Regions from separate parts of the Homo sapiens genome. Here regions 2 and 3 are each linked to region 1. The links are contacts of gene promoters, found by promoter capture Hi-C in blood cells and fetal thymus (Javierre and others, 2016). All regions are on one chromosome and are shown on one strand. Each heading gives the region's core, a stretch centred on a gene start or on the middle of the fragment in contact. The rest is flanking DNA. Distances are from core to core; before and after follow the strand shown. Region 1 holds the start of TIGD2 (tigger transposable element derived 2). Region 2 holds the start of KLHL8 (kelch like family member 8). Region 3 has its middle 6.3 kb from the start of PKD2.

Region 1 (2,630 bases), core at 61-2,560:
CTTGTTGGAAGCCAAATGGAAGGCAGGGAAGAGGGGAGGTCTAAAAGCAGGTATTCTCCAAAAGCCACTTACAACCTCACAACATAACTAGATCAAAGAATTTCTGTCATGCCAGATAGTGGAAGGCTGCTATGTTGAGAAAGGCAATTGAGCAGTTTTGGCGGCGGAGTCAAACAGAAGGCTTAGAATCAACATCTGTTTTCTACAGTATGCTCGCTTTGATTTCCATCTCCAAGTTTCTGAAATTCCAGAAACAGTATATGGCCTTGTCAAAGAAATGACGAATTACTATGTTACTTTGTGTTAACGAAAAGGTTACATTTATGTTCATATGGAAGAGATAATTCACTGAAGAATTTCCAATTTTTCAAACTGACACGCACACACAAGACGGAAAGGAAGGCAGCCTGACCGCGTTTCCCAGGAAACAGGTGGTGCAAGGTGGAGGTGCACCACTCTCTCCTCCAGGAAGGCGGTGACCCTTCCGCAGATGTCTCCGTTGGAAACAAATAAAGGGAGTATCAGTCAAAGCGCAATTCCCCGATTCCACTTGAGAAGCCCCGGGCGTCGAGGCACGGCAGGAAATTTACCACGACGCCTCCCACTGGCTCAAGGGTCTCCCAGGTGCTGTCGATTTTGCAAAGGGTCCGTCTCTACAGCGACTGTGACGAGTTTCGGAGCATCAGCACCGGGGAGCGCTGACCCGACACTCGGCTCTACCGCAGCCCGCCGCGCCTCGGCACCCTGGGCTTGTCCGGCTGGGTGTTGCCGAGCGAACGCCCCAGCTCCTGCCCGGAACCCACGTCCGCCGGCTCCTACCGTGCCTCATGATCCTCGCTCGGGCTAGCACTTTCCACGCGCGCTGACTCTGGGCTCCGACACCTGGACCGCCTCCGCAAGGCGGCGCGGCTGCTGTTTGTAAACACGCCCCACGTGCGCTCGCCCTGCCCCATTCGCAGCCCGCTCCCGGCACGCGAGGATCCTCCGCTTTCCCCCCAGCACTGGGGGGGTGAGATTTTAAAATTTCCCCCTAGGGAGAAAAGAGCCTCGTCGGCAGAGCCGGGCCACTGGGAAAAGCGCCAGGACAAGGCGAGCGTGTGCCTCCCCCTGCCGGCCAGGGAGGCACTGCGGCCCCGAAACGGCCAGGCGGTGAGTGGAACCCACGCAGCGCCTAGAGACGCACCCCTGCCGGGCCCCCGCCCCTCCCGCCCGCTCGCCGGAGTCCCCTCCCCCGGGCCGCGTGCGCTCACCCGCGCAGGCCCCGCCCCCTCGCCGGCACAACGTTCTGCGGGGGCGCGCGCGTGCTCTCTAATCCCCCGCCTTCCGGCTCCGGCGGCGACGCTCGTCCCTCTCCGCTCGTCCCTCGCCGCTGCCGGGCCACCAGTGCCAGCCTGCCTCAGGAGACTCCATTTGCGCTTAGTGTGGTCTGGGCGCCGCGCAGGCGGTCCCAGGGCGATGCCCGGGGCCGGCGGACTGGCGTTCCCTGTGCCAAGCGGCCGCCCGCTGGCTGGCTGGCTGCAGCAGTGACATCCTGGTCGCCGGCGTCCAGGCGGAATCCGGGCTCCCTCCGCGGGAGGAAAGACGTCCCGCGCTCTGAAGCTCGCCCAGCGGGGAGAGGCCCTCGCTAACACGGCTTCTCCCTGACCTCTTAATTTCAGGAGGTAGGCTCTTCAGGTCCCTCTCTCTGTCACCCCAGATTATGCCTGAAAGCATTATTTGTCGTATTTAGCTATCACATTGATAGGAGGCGTTAATTTTCTCAACATAGTTGCAGGATAAATGTGGATAATGCCACAGATCCTGATGTTGAATTGAAAGAAAATGTTTTTGGTATTTTCCTTTAGGTTTCGGAGCCTCCGAGTATCTCTACAGCCCCCACAGGAACTGCTTCTGTTGGTCCATCGAGGATCGTCTTTCACCAGGATTATTGTAACATCATCTTCACCGAGCCTGCCACCCCATAGCCTCTACCTTGGGTCCTCATTTCCACCGATGCAGTTTTTTTGATGCTTTCTTTAGTAATGTGACATCACATGTCCACTATCCTCCTTTCCAGCTGCCAAATCTAGTAGGTTTAAGTCGCTTTTAAAGTAGAGTTTTCTGCCTGTTCCACTTTCACCTTATTTGCACTGTTCACTTCTGTCCGGGTCATCTTCTCTTGCGTATGATTTCCACAAGCACTCACTTGCGCAACCTATAGCAGAGTCCGTGCCTAGAGAGACAGCATTCCATACAATCCACTGCTTGACAAAGACCACATAGTCAGAGGGTGAGTTTTCCCATTGTATTTTCCTGTATGTCAAGTTTGCAAGTCCTCTCTTGACTTAAACTGTTTACTCCCTAGCACATTTCCTAAAATACTTCCACCTGAGATTTAGTGGCTATTCTGGCAAAGAACATTACCTGCAAGGATGGCAAGAATTGAGTATGCAATAGTACTGTTTTAGAAGCCTTACCAGTACAGTTTCTAGCCTCTAGTGTGATTGCACTTCATGAAAGACCCTGAACCCTGAGGAGGAAGAAAGATAGAAGATAAGAGTTAATTGGCGCTAGGCTTTGTTGTAGGAAGTTTGTAAGTTTTAAAATAGCAAGTAGATTCACGTAGACCTTGTCAGGAAATTGGTCACTAT
Region 2 (2,630 bases), core at 60-2,559, 1.9 Mb before region 1:
GCGCGAAGAGGATTTCCTTCTAGAGAGAGAATAAAGAACACCAAGAGTCCAACAATTACCATCTTGTATAGGAGAAAAACAATGCAAAGGAAAAAACGTGCAACCAGCAGATAAAATACTTATGTCAACCCAGGTTCTAAGGACCTTTTCCCAAAGTATCCCTCTAAACTGGTAACATTAGCTTAGGGCAGAGTCAAGAAGAAAGTTATGCCATTAACACAGATGAAAATACTGAACGTTTTCTATGAAAAGTCACCCGATTAAACACTGCCAAGAGGGAAAAACAGTGCAAGTCCAGTAAAGCACGAGACACGTAGAAAATTCAAGCTATGTAGCCAAATCGCTCTCTCTGAAGAAAACAGCAAGCCAACTGAACCCAGCACGGAGTGGAAGGCGTAAAGAGCTGTCATCGTGGCGGTAACAACTCCACCGGGCGGCTGAGCGTCTAGAAAGAGGCTGCGGTTCCTGGTTCCACATCAGGAGGCACTCTCCACAAGGTCTACACCGCCGCTCCCGGGAAGGCACCTCCAGGGCGGCCAGCAAGCCCCCCGAGTGGGGACAGGCAGTGCCTTCCTCGCCTCGTCCCCGCGCGGCGTGGCCCGGAGGTGGCCCACTCGCCCCGCCCCCGCAGGCCGCGGCTCCAGGGGGCGTCCGGCCGCCCTCCCGGGGCCCCGAACCCGCGCCAGCCGCACCGCGCCTGCCCTCTTCCTGGACCCCGCGAAGCACCTGCCTGGGCCCCTCTTCGAAAGACTGGGAGGAAGGAGTCAAGGAGCTGCCGGGGAGGCTGACAGAGCCAGAGGCTGGAGCTCCCCTACGGGAGCCGGGAGCATAACCCTGCTCCTCCCGCCAATGGGGGCGACAAAAGCCGTGGAAGGTTGCTCAGGGGCTGGATCTCCTGCTGTCCGGGCCCCAAGCCCTCTCAGCTGTGGAGTTTCGGTTGGTGCACGAGGGCTCGAATTTCCTCCGCACACCGGAGACCCAAGACGGGACGGTGTTGCGACTTGGGGGCTGGGGTGAGGGAGGGCTCGGCGCGAGCGGACGGCACCGCACAAAGGAAGAGGGGACTGAGGGGAGACGAGGGGACTGAGGGGAGACGAGCGTCCCGTTACCTCGATCCTCGACCCTGTTCTTCCTGATGTCGCTAAGGTTGCAGCCACGTTACCACGCTCCCAGAGCCCCGGCCGCCCTCAGCGGAACCTCACCAACCCCGCGCGAGCACCCGGCGGACGCGCGCTCTCCTGCGCGGCCCCGCGGAGCCCCGGCGGGCGCTTGGCGTCCTCTCGCCTCAGCCCCCGCGAGCCGCGGCCTCTGGGGGCGGGGCGGGCTGGGCGGGGCTGCGCACGGCACTCTGGGAAGTGTGGTTCTCGGGACCTCCTCCCCGAGGCCACCCCCACGGCCTCGCCCCCGCGGCTCCCTAGTGGGCGGCCGGGTCTCAGGGACTGGGCAGTGTTGCCCGGCCTGGTGAAGGCGGACCAGGGCGTGGCGGAGGTCCCCATAACAAATCTTGAAATAAAACACTGCCTAAATACCTTTGAGCTTATCCATGCTTCACTTCTGCGGCGGTACAAAATTTAGTTTCTTTGTATGTCCATCAAATCCCCTTCTGCGGTTGTGAGTGTTCCTGGGATTTATGTCTTTGAAAAAAGAAGGGGAAAAAAAGGTTTGCATTTATTCCTGTGTCACTTTCACCACGTGCTCTACAAAGGATATACAAAACAACTGTGTTTATAAATACACACCCACAGTTTGTAAACCTAAGGAAGCAGTTGATTGACCTGAGAGCTCGCTGCTAAAAAGCAGTGCAAGTGGCCATGCGCGGTGGCTCACGCCTGTAATCCCAGCACTTTGGGAGGCTGAGGCGGGCGCATCACGAGGTCAGGAGTCGAGACCATCCTGGCCAACATGGTGAAACTCCGTCTGTACTAAAAATACAAAAATTAGCTGGGCGTGGTTGTGCGTGCCACCAATCCCAGCTATTCGCAAGGCTGAGGCAGGAGAATTGCTTGAACCCGGGAGTCGGAGGTTGCAGTGAGCTGAGATTGTGCCATTGCACTCCAGCCTGGCGACAGAGCAAGACTCCGTCTAAAAAAAAAAAAAAAAAAAAAAAAAGCAATGCAAGTAAAAGTGCTGTTGAAATGAATTAATTTTTCTATAATGTCAATAAAGTGGAATGTGTGAGGCGGGAGATCAAGAGACAGCAAAAAAACAAAATTTTTTTTAAAGAAAGATATTCCCCTAAATGTGTCTTTTGCCAGACTAACCTCAAACTTTCACAATCCTAGGAGTCTATTTCAGAATAAATTTAATCCTAGGACCTTTATTAATATTAACACATATGAACATTAGCACATTGATTTTAATAGAAATGAACATATATATATCTGTATATATATATGCATCTTCTATAAAAACCCCAAAGCAACTATTTGAATTTGAAATTTTATTTCTAGAAAAAAAATCACATTTTTTACATTGAAATATAAATAATTCTTAATATTTCAAAATATTCCTCTTTAGAGCATTAGTATTTTGCACATTTAATGCAAATACCTTTAGAAAAATAGAGTAAGATGAGTTTTAAAGAAGTATGCAGTGAAGAAAAGTCATAAAATGTGTCTGGAACGTGATGT
Region 3 (2,630 bases), core at 86-2,585, 1.1 Mb before region 1:
AAAAGTTATCTTAATATAAAATTTCAAAAAAAAAAAAAAAATTGAAGATAAGCCACAGACTGAAAGAAAATATTTGCAAAAGACCTATCTGATAAAGGATTGTGATTCAAAATATACAAAGAACCCTTAAAGTTCAACAAGAAAATAAGCCACCCGATTGAAAAATAGGCCCAAAAGACTTACCAGGCAGGGTAGATACCATGACCACAAGGGTAGTTTTCCCTAGGGCAAGGCTTCTCTATTCCACTGAAGACTTGCTGATCCCTGTGATTTCTCCAAATGTGGGAAACTCAACTGCGTAATTTGTGGTAGCAGCATACTGCATTCATGCTTTTCCCCAGTAAATAAAAGGAAAAAATGAGCCAACAACCTGAACAGACACCTTACCAAAGAAGATATACAGATGGCAACTGAGCATATGAAAAGATGCTCCACATATATGTCAATAAGGAATTGCAAATTAAAACAACGAGATCCAATTGCCCGCCCATTTGAATGGCCAAAATCCAAAACACTGATAATGCTACTGCTGTTGAGGATGTGGAAAAAGAACTCTTATTTATTGCTGATGGGAATGCTGTAAATAATATTACAAAGACATGTGTACCTGTATATTCATTGCAGCACTATTCATAATAGCAAAGACATAGAGTCAATCTAGGTGCCCATCAATGATGGATTGGATTTTTTAAAACATGGTACTATACACTATGAAATACTATGAAGCTATGAAAAAGAATAAAATCATGTCCTGTGCAGCAACATGGATGCAGCTGGAGGCCATTAACCTAAACAAATTAACATAGTAACTGAAAGCCAAATACCACATGTTCTCACTTATAAGTGGGAGCTAACCTTTGGGTGCCCATGGATAAAGATGGCAACAATAGACAGTGGGGAATACAAGAGGAGGGAGGGAGGGAAAGGGGCAAGGGTAAAGTTGAAATAATTTTTTTAATTTTTTAAAAGGATATTTTTTGGCTCATGGAGTCCAGGGGTGGATCTAGCTTCAATTAGTTCTAACTCAGGGGTTCAAATGATGTCCTGAGAACCTAGTCTTTCTCTGTCTCTTTGATCTACTCTCTTAAAATACAGATTCCTAGGACCTAGCTGAGACATAATGAATCAGAATCCCTAGAAGTTAGACTCCAGAATCTTTATTTAAAATAAAACAAAACAAAAAAAACTTCCCAGAAGAATGTCATAAAGCTCTTATTGGTTAAATGTTTTATCCATGTATAGCAAGCTAGTTACAAGCTTCTTGCAGGCATAAACAACTTCTTTAGCATCCTAATCATATCTAAGATTGTACGAAGGGGACATAAAACAGGTACTCTGCAAAGTCTGGTAGATCTGGGAATGCTGGAAGCCTCATTCATGTTGGCATCAAAAGGTATTTGAAAAAAAATTGTGATAAGCTTTGGAAAAATCTGGGCTAGTGAAAATTGGATTTAAAGTTTTTTTAAAATACAACTATACCCAAACAGTACTAGTGAATAAACTAGAGTTGATGAAGAGAAGAGCTGCACACAGTATTTCAAAGAACTCTGTTCTTGGCCCCAATTTGTTCAAAATTCTTTTGAACTTGGATAAAAATATAGATAATAAATATCATAATCTGCATCTGACAAAACCAGGAGATGGCACACAATAAAAATGTATTTCATAATGTTCTTGAATAGCATGGCCACCCAAACATTAGTTCAATTTTAGTATTCTTCCAGTATCCACATTATAAATATTTTTTGTATCTCCATTGTTGGCGCCATTTTTCCCCTGAGCATCAACATTTTGGCTGCCAGCTTGTCTGGACTTACATCTTTAAAACTCTAAATCTGGTGGGAAGAAAAGCTTTTCTTTTCCAACAACTGGAAAAAAATTTCTGGCCTAATTTTTTTTTTTAACACAACAGGATAACATACTTGTGAAATACCATTCACAGGGGCCAAGGAGACGTGATGCTGATTGGGCAAGCCTGAGCTCCACAATCACCACTTGGGAGCTAGCAGTGGTGTCTGCCACACCTGAGACACATATAGGCTAAGAATGGCAGCAGGGGTGGGTAGGTGGGGGTGTCCCCAAGAAAACTTGCACTAGAAAACAGACTGGCTGCTGAGCTGCTAATAAGCCAGGGTCCCTGCTCTCCAGGAGCTTATGTGCCACTCACGAAGACGTCTATGTGAACAGATATTTTCAGTATAAGGTGGCAAATGTTGGAATAAAGGTTTACAGGGTAGAGAGGCATGTCAATTCATGCTGGGGGCCAAGATTGTGTCTATGGAAGGTTCCAGGGAGAGATGAAGTCTGAGTCTAGAAAAATTCCTAAGTTTTTATGGGTAGAGAAGTTGAGAATGATCTATGGATGTTTCCAGGCAGTTTAACTATAAGATTTGATCTCATTGAAGGTAGGAATCATGTCTTATCTTTGTCACTCTGGAATGCAACACAGTGACTGGCATGTAGCGGACACTCAATACATGTTTTATAAACTTATTAATATTCCTTCATTAGTCCTCAACAAAAATTCTGTGGGGGATTTATAAGATGGGTATTTAACCTCATTATCCAGAGAAGGAAATTGAGATAGAGAGATTAGGTCATCAAGATCACGGTGCCAGCCAATTATGGTG

Evidence for each region. Contacts are between HindIII fragments. The CHiCAGO score rates a contact against its expected background, and 5 or more counts as called.
Region 2: the fragment with the promoter of KLHL8 here is called in contact with the fragment with the promoter of TIGD2 in region 1 in 3 of 17 cell types (non-activated CD4 T cells, naive CD4 T cells and naive CD8 T cells); the score reaches 7.0 in non-activated CD4 T cells.
Region 3: a fragment that was not itself captured here is called in contact with the fragment with the promoter of TIGD2 in region 1 in 1 of 17 cell types (total CD8 T cells); the score reaches 5.1 in total CD8 T cells.

Annotation. Positions count from the first base shown.
Region 1 is chr4:89,110,223-89,112,852 of GRCh38, forward strand. TIGD2 (tigger transposable element derived 2) reads left to right here and starts at 1,311. Exons shown (of 2, transcript NM_145715.3): 1 at 1,311-1,661; 2 at 1,845-2,630. RefSeq lists enhancers at 819-928, 959-1,038 and a silencer at 1,119-1,568. The HindIII fragment of the contact is 10,355 bases long and covers 1-2,630 here.
Region 2 is chr4:87,219,309-87,221,938 of GRCh38, forward strand. KLHL8 (kelch like family member 8) reads right to left here and starts at 1,310. Exons shown (of 10, transcript NM_020803.5): 1 at 1,110-1,310. RefSeq lists an enhancer at 312-924 and silencers at 430-699, 1,040-1,529. The HindIII fragment of the contact is 8,812 bases long and covers 1-2,630 here.
Region 3 is chr4:88,000,062-88,002,691 of GRCh38, forward strand. It overlaps the pseudogene RNU1-36P. Among named protein-coding and RNA genes, the nearest start is that of PKD2, 6.3 kb to the right of the region's middle. The HindIII fragment of the contact is 161 bases long and covers 1,256-1,416 here.